Linked DNA regions of Homo sapiens: region 1 is linked to region 2. The links are contacts of gene promoters, found by promoter capture Hi-C in human tissues and cell types (Jung and others, 2019). All regions are on one chromosome and are shown on one strand. The core of a region is centred on a gene start or on the middle of the fragment in contact, and the rest is flanking DNA. Distances in the headings are between cores, read along the strand shown. Region 1 has its middle 20 kb from the start of PAX9. Region 2 holds the start of FOXA1 (forkhead box A1).

Evidence for each region. Contacts are between HindIII fragments. The study calls those that stand out against the background at their distance.
Region 1: a fragment that was not itself captured here is called in contact with the fragment with the promoter of FOXA1 in region 2 in 1 of the 25 tissues and cell types used here (dorsolateral prefrontal cortex).

Annotation. Positions count from the first base shown.
Region 1 is chr14:36,639,943-36,644,774 of GRCh38, reverse strand. No RefSeq gene overlaps it. Among named protein-coding and RNA genes, the nearest start is that of PAX9, 20 kb to the left of the region's middle. The HindIII fragment of the contact is 3,703 bases long and covers 1-3,466 here.
Region 2 is chr14:37,591,469-37,596,572 of GRCh38, reverse strand. It overlaps FOXA1 (forkhead box A1), which reads left to right and starts at 1,324. Exons shown (of 2, transcript NM_004496.5): 1 at 1,324-1,672; 2 at 3,862-5,104. The coding sequence starts at 1,601. It overlaps TTC6 (tetratricopeptide repeat domain 6), which reads right to left and starts at 944. Exons shown (of 33, transcript NM_001310135.5): 1 at 565-944. RefSeq lists enhancers at 1-1,015, 529-1,388, 4,821-5,104. The HindIII fragment of the contact is 7,361 bases long and covers 1-2,669 here.

The DNA of each region.
Region 1 (4,832 bases), core at 366-2,865, 950 kb after region 2:
ATATAATGTAATGGAGTTAGATACAAAATGCTATGGAATACAAGAGAGCACCAAAGGGTGGTCTTAGGCTGATGAGAGCTTGTTGGAATGCTCTCATATGTAGAAAACATGACATTAGAAAGGATAAGAAATTTGAAGGCTGGGTATGGTGGCTCACATCTGTAATCCCAGAACTTTGGGAGGCCAAGGCAGGAGGATTACTTGACCCCAGGAGTTTGAGACCAGCCTGGCCAACATAGAGAGACTCTTTCTCTACAGATTTTTTTTTTTTTTTTAATTAGCCAGGCATGATGGTGCATACTTGTGGTCCCAGCTACTCGGAAGGCTGAGGTAGGAGGATTGGGCCCAGGAGGTCGAGGCTGTGGTGAGCCATGATGGTGCCACTGCACTCCAGCCTGGGCAACAGAGTAAGACCGTGTCTCAAAAAAAAAAAAAAAAAAAAAAAAAAAAAGAAAAGAAAAAGAAAAAAGAAATTAGAAAAAGGACGCAATCATACAAAAACAGCTTAATAGGCAGAATAATTGACTATAAATAACACTAATCAATATATGAGTAAATATAGAATTCTACACTCAGATACAAAATAATTGAACCAGTGTATGAAGATACCGTCAGGGATGGCAGTTTAGGTAATCTCAGGGCCTACAGTTGATTGTAAACTCAGCATGAGCCTAGAATGTTAATGTTCTTAGTTTGTGCAAATAGAAGTGGAGTATTCAGCATAAGGGTTATTTTCTTTACCGGGGTGGGAGCGAGTCTTGTTTCTGGTCTCCCCAAACATTGATAGGTTGATGGTATGTACGTGCAAAGGGAAGCCACACATGGTAAAGGATTCTAACCAAAGTCATACTCTATGGCTTATGGAACTAGAATTTTTGATAGAGACTGGAAGGCTTAGAAAGTATGGCATAGCTGTCCTCAAATATTTGAAGGGCTCCCAGGTAGAAAAGATGTTGAACTTACTCTGTCAGAGGAGCTCAGCAAAGCTTTTCTCGGTTTATAATACAGAGCCTAATGGAGCAAAGTCATCCTCTATGAGTTTGACTGTCCTTTCCTGCTGGATTCTAAGCTCCATGAATGCAGGAACCAACAGGTCTGATTCACTCTGAAACTCCTGTGTCTTGCACATAGAAGTTAATTTTTTTTTTTTTTTTTGAGAGAGTCCTGTTGCCCAGGCTGGAGTACAGTGGCACAATCTCGGCTCACTGCAACCTCCACTTCCCAGGTTCAAGCAATTCTCGTGCCTCAGCCAACTGAATAGCTGGGATTACAAGTGTGCACCACCATATCCGGCTAGTTTTTGTATTTTTAATAGAGACGGGGTTTCACCATGTTGGCCAGGGGTTTCACCATGTTGGCCAGGCTGGTCTTAAACTCCTGGCCTCAAGTGATCCTCCCACCTCAGCCACCCAAAGTGCTGGGATTACAGACATGAGCAACCTCACCAGATGAAAGTCAATGAATTTTTTTTTTTCTTGAGATGGAGTCTCACTCTGACACCCATGCTGGAGTGTAGTGGCACAATCTTGGCTCACTGCAACCTCTGCCTCCTGGGTTCAAGGGATTCTCCTGCCTCAGCCTCCGGAGTAGCTGGGATTATAGGTGACTGCCACTACACCTGGCTATTTTTTGTATTTTCAGTAGAGACAGGGTTTCACCATGTTGGCCAGGCTGGTCTCGAACTTGTGACCTCAGGTGATCCGCCCAACTCAGCCTCCCAAAGTGCTGGGATTACAGGTGTGAGCCACCGTACCTGGTGGAAGTCAATGAAATTTTGATGTAGGAATGAATCAATAAATTATTCCATGTGGTTTCAAAGGAGAGAACTGAGACTCAAGGGCAAAAGTGTAGAGTTGGATGACAAATGAACCCAACTAATTTGGCTATTAATTAGGATCATTGGTGTAAATAAAGATACACTGTTTAGATGTTTAATTTCAACCTTTGCTCACCTGTTCAGCAAGAAGCTTTTATTACCCTTAAACCTTTTCTTCCAGAAATGATGCTAACTAAAGAGGTACATGGGCTTTAATGGCCCTTAGGTGGCATGTCAGTTCCATGAGAACTGGAGGACACACTATACATAGGTTCTTAAGCATGGGAGGAATGTGAGGAGGGGCTAGATCAGATCTTATTTAATTTTAGCTGCAATTTAGATCTGTTAAGTTGTGGTCCCTAGAGTACCTAGGTCATTTAGGTACCCCAAAATGTTGTTGGGGTTTGGCTATGCTCTTTGCTAGTTCAGTGGGTTTTGAACTTTTTCAAAGGGACCACCCGCATGTTGTATAAAGAAGATAGCAATGAACCCTAGTTGTGGAACTGTGGAACCTCTGAGTAGCCCTAGGGTTCTGAAGGGCTCAGTCCCTGAAGCGCTGGCCTGTTTTACCCCAGATATGATGGCCATATGCCCTGACCAAACCGCAGTACAAAATTAAGCTTATGTGGAATGACTTCCAGCTCTTATCAGACCCCAAACTCCTAATTTTTTTAAGTCATCTATTACACTTTGCTGTTTTTTGTCTACTGATCTGTATCCAGAGTTTTAGCAAGTAGCATCTTCCTTAAATAATATACGTTGGTCTGCAGATATTGGAGGCTTGCTAGTTCTTAGAGCTCATGAAGACAAATGAGAGATGATGAGGAATGTCACTCAGGTGCCAAAGGATGCCAAACTCTGGCCTTTAGAATACTTAATTTTTCCATAATCAAGAAGCCACACATCAGTCCCCTCATTGCCTGTTGCCTACAGCAATAGCATTCTCTTTTTACTGAACATCTCAAAATACTTGTGGATTAACATTAGACTCAAGGAAGAGAAAGGAAAGGCATCATTATTGCTACTTTGCTGAGGAGGAAATAAGTTATTGTCCTCTCCTTCCCTACCCCTCCATGCATAGAATTAGTTATCTGAACAATTGCTTAAATGTTGCATGTAAATATCTCAATAAGAAGGCTTATAGTAATAATTATTATTATATCCTCTGTGCAAGGCATTGTGCTAAGAACATCTCTTACCTTATTTCATCCTCATGATAATCTATGAGAGGCTATTATGATCCTTATTCTATTAATGAAGAAACTGATGTAGGAATGTTAAGTAACTTGCTTGAAGTTACATAGGTGTTGTGTGGTGGACTCATAATCCAGAGCAACTTCATAGCCAGGTACAGTTACATGATTTATTTCTCTTATCTGATGCTAGCATCATGGAGGGATGGAAACCAAAGGAATGCAACTTATTTTTTTATCCAGCACTACTTTTATTTAAGAATTTATTGTGAAAAGGTATTTTTGCCTAGGAGAGTTCATCTTTTACTTCAATTGGTTTCAATTACTTAGATTTCTTGGTGATCCAGCTGCCTTGAGAAACAACATTCTGTAATACTTAGTCCAGAAAGTGTTGAACATGATCAAATAATATCTAGGTTAATCACATTTTGTATCTGATTCTGTCTGGGTCATTATTATAGAGTTAGAAAGGCTATAAGACAGCCAGACTGCTTTCCAGTTTATCTTCCAAATCCTAAAAATAGTACCTACATCTTGTTAATAATAAGAATAGCTAGCAATTATATAGGGCTTGCCTTATGCCAGGCACTTCTGACTGCAGTTCTAAGCCAGGAATTGCAAAATCTCTACTAGATCTTATCCATTTTAGGAATATTTAGTGGCAAATGAAAGGTTCTAATCTGGAGTTCTGAGTAACATAATTCCTTGGTGAACATGATAGATTATCCCCTTGAAAGGGAAGAAAGAGCCATTCAAAAAATGTGACTGTGCCAATTTACTCGTTGATCTAAAGTCATATGTTCTTTCTCTTCTGTGCAGGGGGTAAAAGAGCAAAGAGATAAATTTAATATCCAAGGGCTTACAACACATGGGAAGGAATAGCCATGCAAAAACTAATTACAAATAATGCAATGAGGAATGCAAAACTTTAGGATGATAAAGAATGAAATTATTATATTAAAGATACAAACTATTAATATGCTAAGTGCTTATGTGAGAGAATGTAGGAAGATATCATTAATTCTGTCAGGCTAAAATCAAAGACCTCTATACTTTATTCTAAGGATGTTGGCATGTTTAAGTTTTTATTGGTACAGATTATTGTGGCAGAGCCTTATGGTTGTCCTCAAGGGAAAGGTTGGTTGGTTTGTGTAAGAAGGTGGGGTGGAAGGTACGTGTTCTTGGGATTTTGTTCATTTTTGTTTTATTTTGCTTTCCTTTACTCAGAAGAGGACTAAATTAAGCACAATGTAAGATATTTCATCTATAAGCGATTGTTAGTGTGTGCGGCTCATTGTAAGTATTCTGGACTTAGGATTTAGGAAAGCTGAATTCAGGTCTAGATTTTGTCACTAGTTACTTTGGGAGGCCATTTTACCTCCCTGGATCATCTGTAAGACTTGAGGCTTATAACAAATGATTCATAAGGACCCTTCGAGTGCTAATGTCCTGAGATTATTTGGGGAGAAAGATGAGGGAAAGTGAAGCTTTTCACTAAGAGGCATTTTTATTTTGTAAGGCCCTTAGACTTGATTACTCACGTTGAGAATGGAGATAAAGATGGAGGAGCTGGAGATCAGATTGCTATCTGTGGTAATCCGTGTGGATGAACTGTTCTACCAAGGCTTTCCTGGATCTAGTTGCAGTAGACTGGCTCACGATACACCTGAATCATGGCACAACCGGTGAAGCTATAAAAGAATCCGAATTAACTTTATTTTGCCTAGCTCTTAATTCTTTGGAACTGTATGTTACAATTGCAGACAAGGGCTATGGTGTACAAGAGCTTCTCTAAACATGAGGATTTGGAAAACCTGTCTTTT
Region 2 (5,104 bases), core at 75-2,574:
AATTGCCTATCACCCGGTCACTTCAGTTGTTCTCTCTCCCAGGACAAGTGGGCAACCACCACCCAGGGCCTCATGAGAGTAAAGAGACTTTGCGTTGGGAAGACTCTCCCACCGACGTCCAGGACCGATTAGGAACCAAGCGAGCCCCTGAGATCTCAGCCCGGACCCTCCGGGTCACAGACAGGACCAAGCGCCGCTGCGGGCAGTCTCGGGCTTCTGCCTGGCATCTCTTTCGCAGTGCAGATGCGTTCCCGCGCCCAGGCCCTTGCTCTCCCAGCTAACGCGCGTGTTATGGGAGATGTCCCCTCCCCCTGACCTTTTCCTATCAGAAACCAGACGGTCGTCTCCAGCTCACTCCCTGAAGCGGCTGAAGGGGGGCGGGAGGAGGAGCCCGGCAGGGGGAGGACGGCCCGACTTGGGTCCGCCTGCCCTATCACACAGACATCTGCTCTCAGTTTCTTCCTCTTTGTGGTCGCTACAGATGACAAGGGGAGAGGAGCGGACCGAGGCGGAACAAAAAAAAAAAGTTATGTCATAAAGATATAAACCGGTGCTGTGACTCACCTGCTCTTAGCCGCAGGTACGAGTTTCGTGGCAGCGCCTCCGCTCTGCTAGCCCGGGGCCCGGGTCGGCCTAACGTCACTTGGCTCGGCTGACTCAGATGACCCGGTTTCTAGTGACGAAGCAAAAGTGGGGCTTTTTCCCTTTTCTAGTCTGAAGCTCTCAGGAGGAAAGAAAAAAAAAAGTCTGTATTCTCCAGTCTCCCGGGGTTGAACTTTGGGTCAGGAATCAGGAGGGAGGAAGCAAAGAGCAGGAGGGGCGCGAGACTGGGCCGCAGCCCGCGCTCGGAAGGTGGCGTGTACCTCTGGGGAGGGACCCCGGGGTCAGTTATCCCACAAGGTCTCTAAGCCCAGTCTCCGACGCCACCGCCCCCGGCCTTCTCCGGCTGCGAGGTTCCGATCCAGAGCCCTAGCCCGCCCGCCCGCCTGGCCCCGCCTATTTTTTCTTTTTCCAAAGGGGGTTACACCCCCTCCCTCCCCATTTCCCTCTTTCCCTAGCCTCCGGGCCTAAACCAATTACACTGCTTTGCAAACAAAGTGAGGGCCCCGCTTGGGGGAGGGGTCGCGGGGGAGGGGTCGCGCGCAGCGGTGAAGCGGCGGGGCGGGAGGCGCGGCGGCCGGACTGGCGGGCGGCCGCCTTGCAGGTGCACCTCGGGCTTTGTAGGTGCGAGCGTCTTTGTGCGGCGGACAAATGGGGAGAGGACGAGGAGGTGGGCACTCAAGCGACGTAAGATCCACATCAGCTCAACTGCACTTGCCTCGCAGAGGCAGCCCGCTCACTTCCCGCGGAGGCGCTCCCCGGCGCCGCGCTCCGCGGCAGCCGCCTGCCCCCGGCGCTGCCCCCGCCCGCCGCGCCGCCGCCGCCGCCGCGCACGCCGCGCCCCGCAGCTCTGGGCTTCCTCTTCGCCCGGGTGGCGTTGGGCCCGCGCGGGCGCTCGGGTGACTGCAGCTGCTCAGCTCCCCTCCCCCGCCCCGCGCCGCGCGGCCGCCCGTCGCTTCGCACAGGGCTGGATGGTTGTATTGGGCAGGGTGGCTCCAGGATGTTAGGAACTGTGAAGATGGAAGGGCATGAAACCAGCGACTGGAACAGCTACTACGCAGACACGCAGGAGGTGAGAGGCAAGGCGAGGCGGGCGGCCGGTGGGGCGCCGCTGGAGCCCGTGCCGGGGGAGGCCGGGGAGCGGTGGGCGCCAGGCAAGGCAGGCAGGCGGGCCGGGGGCGCCTTCTCGGTGCCACCGCTGCCCGCCCGCCGGTGTGGCCCCGGCCGGGCCTTGGCCGGGCCTGGAAGCGGGACCTGCTGCCCTGCTCTGTCCCGACTCTCGCAGCCGGAGAGGGAGTTTTAGGAAACTCCGGGCTTTGAAAACAGCGGCTCTAGGAAGCGCTTGCCTCTTCCCAGCAGCGAGCGGGAGCAGGAGCCGGGCCCGGGGTGCAGCGGGCGGGCGAGCGCCGGTGCGAGTTGGAAGCAACTCTGAGAAAGCCGGAGCATACCCACAAGGCGACCTCTTCGTCCCACCGTTTAATTCGCAGACGTCTTCTGATTAAAGCGCTCTGCCGCCAAGTTGGGTGTCTCAATAATGAAACGATTTCTAAATTTTGTAAAACTTGTTCTTCAAAAGCCCTATTTGGGGAGAAGTGTGCTCCTTCTCTAAAACCGCTGGGTGGCGCTAGTGCGACCAAAATCTTCTTCACAACTCTGGGCCGAGAACCTGTTTCTCTTCATTGTCCCCTTGGTGGCACGTTCATGGGGGTTATTTTTACAATGTGCACAAAAGGATTACAGGGAAAACCAGTTACAGGGAGGACTACCACCTATTAAAAGTATTTTTCTGGAAACAGCTGGCGATTACCCTCCAAAAGTTTAATTACCATTATTGAAAACGCGTATTGGAACTGCCTTGGATAATCTTGGGAAGAGGGAAAGAAAATAAAGCCCCAAGGTAAAAAATACTTTTAAGACGTGGACAGAAAAATATAGGATCACGTAATATTTTGATGGTAACTGACTTATTTAGATTTATGTATTCACAAGTTTACCTCTGAGTTTATTTGCATACCATAGTTTACTGGGTGTTCCTATTTAAATCTATTTGTTCTCATATTTTCAAATTGAGTCATACTTGCTGATTAAAATAAACTTAAGGACATCATTATTCCTTATTAAATTACCAGAGGAGTGCTTTTTAATATGCCTAGGTTTTGTATGTTTAAAATACTGTACCTAATGCATTCCCACATCGCTATTGATAAGGATTTTCGCTTGTTGATGATTTTAAAAGGAGCTCAGAGGTCTTCCAGAGATTTAATTCTGACGCAGTCATCTCGACCCCACCATTCAATTAAGACCCCTAGCGAAAGTACTTTCTTACATGTTAAAGCTGAGAATTAGGAAATACAATAGCATTAAGAGAAAATAAGTAGAATTTGATTTTCGAATTTTAAATTATTCAAGACTACTCACGGAATCTCAAAGCCAGGCGTTGAAATCATCGGCAGCAACATCAGCATGTGAAAAAAAAAAAAGATTTATTTTGACAAACTGTGTCACCAAATTTTTCAAACAGGGGACTGTAAAGTGGTGACAAAATTAATGCGAGTTTCTAAATAGCTTGCAAAGGTGTACATGTAAAGTCATGTTAAAATAAAATGCATATAGCACTTTGAGATTATTATAGCACCCCCTCCCAGCCCTTTCTGTTATGGATCTACTTTTAGTTTTATTTTTCCAAAACTTATTTAACTCTGAGTTTGCTTCCCTTTTAACATTACAGTTGCTACAAGCAGGTAGAAAACACTACTTCTAAATACAATAAACAACAAAAAGTCACCATAGGCAAAAACCCCTAGGACAATAAAGCCACTTGTTGGGAAACAGATGATTCAGGGGGTCCCATGTCCATAGGTGATTTGCTCTATCAACGATTTCCCCCCAAAGGGCGCTTTGCCGAGGCTGGTTGGGGTGGAGACTTGGGATACCGCCTGGCGTGGATGGAGGAGGCGATGAGGGGGCCCTGGAAGCCAGCCCCTGAGCCTGGCGTGTAAGGCGATTACACATCTTCCTGGGGTCATATTTTCTGTGAGCGTTTATCTTTCATGCCTGCCGCGCTAGGATTTTCCCCCTGCCGTGCAAGACATCTTTGCTCGGTCTGGGGAGGGCGCTTAGCCATTTGCCCCGGGTGGGGGCGTCCCGTGTTCTGCAAAGTGCTCTGCACTTGCCCCCGGGTTAGGTCCCGGACGGCCGCCCTCCAGTGCCCACCACTAACCCCGCCCTCCGGGGCTTCTTCACTCGCTGTCTCCACTCCAGGCCTACTCCTCCGTCCCGGTCAGCAACATGAACTCAGGCCTGGGCTCCATGAACTCCATGAACACCTACATGACCATGAACACCATGACTACGAGCGGCAACATGACCCCGGCGTCCTTCAACATGTCCTATGCCAACCCGGGCCTAGGGGCCGGCCTGAGTCCCGGCGCAGTAGCCGGCATGCCGGGGGGCTCGGCGGGCGCCATGAACAGCATGACTGCGGCCGGCGTGACGGCCATGGGTACGGCGCTGAGCCCGAGCGGCATGGGCGCCATGGGTGCGCAGCAGGCGGCCTCCATGAATGGCCTGGGCCCCTACGCGGCCGCCATGAACCCGTGCATGAGCCCCATGGCGTACGCGCCGTCCAACCTGGGCCGCAGCCGCGCGGGCGGCGGCGGCGACGCCAAGACGTTCAAGCGCAGCTACCCGCACGCCAAGCCGCCCTACTCGTACATCTCGCTCATCACCATGGCCATCCAGCAGGCGCCCAGCAAGATGCTCACGCTGAGCGAGATCTACCAGTGGATCATGGACCTCTTCCCCTATTACCGGCAGAACCAGCAGCGCTGGCAGAACTCCATCCGCCACTCGCTGTCCTTCAATGACTGCTTCGTCAAGGTGGCACGCTCCCCGGACAAGCCGGGCAAGGGCTCCTACTGGACGCTGCACCCGGACTCCGGCAACATGTTCGAGAACGGCTGCTACTTGCGCCGCCAGAAGCGCTTCAAGTGCGAGAAGCAGCCGGGGGCCGGCGGCGGGGGCGGGAGCGGAAGCGGGGGCAGCGGCGCCAAGGGCGGCCCTGAGAGCCGCAAGGACCCCTCTGGCGCCTCTAACCCCAGCGCCGACTCGCCCCTCCATCGGGGTGTGCACGGGAAGACCGGCCAGCTAGAGGGCGCGCCGGCCCCCGGGCCCGCCGCCAGCCCCCAGACTCTGGACCACAGTGGGGCGACGGCGACAGGGGGCGCCTCGGAGTTGAAGACTCCAGCCTCCTCAACTGCGCCCCCCATAAGCTCCGGGCCCGGGGCGCTGGCCTCTGTGCCCGCCTCTCACCCGGCACACGGCTTGGCACCCCACGAGTCCCAGCTGCACCTGAAAGGGGACCCCCACTACTCCTTCAACCACCCGTTCTCCATCAACAACCTCATGTCCTCCTCGGAGCAGCAGCATAAGCTGGACTTCAAGGCATACGAACAGGCACTGCAATACTCGCCTTACGGCTCTACGTTGCCCGCCAGCCTGCCTC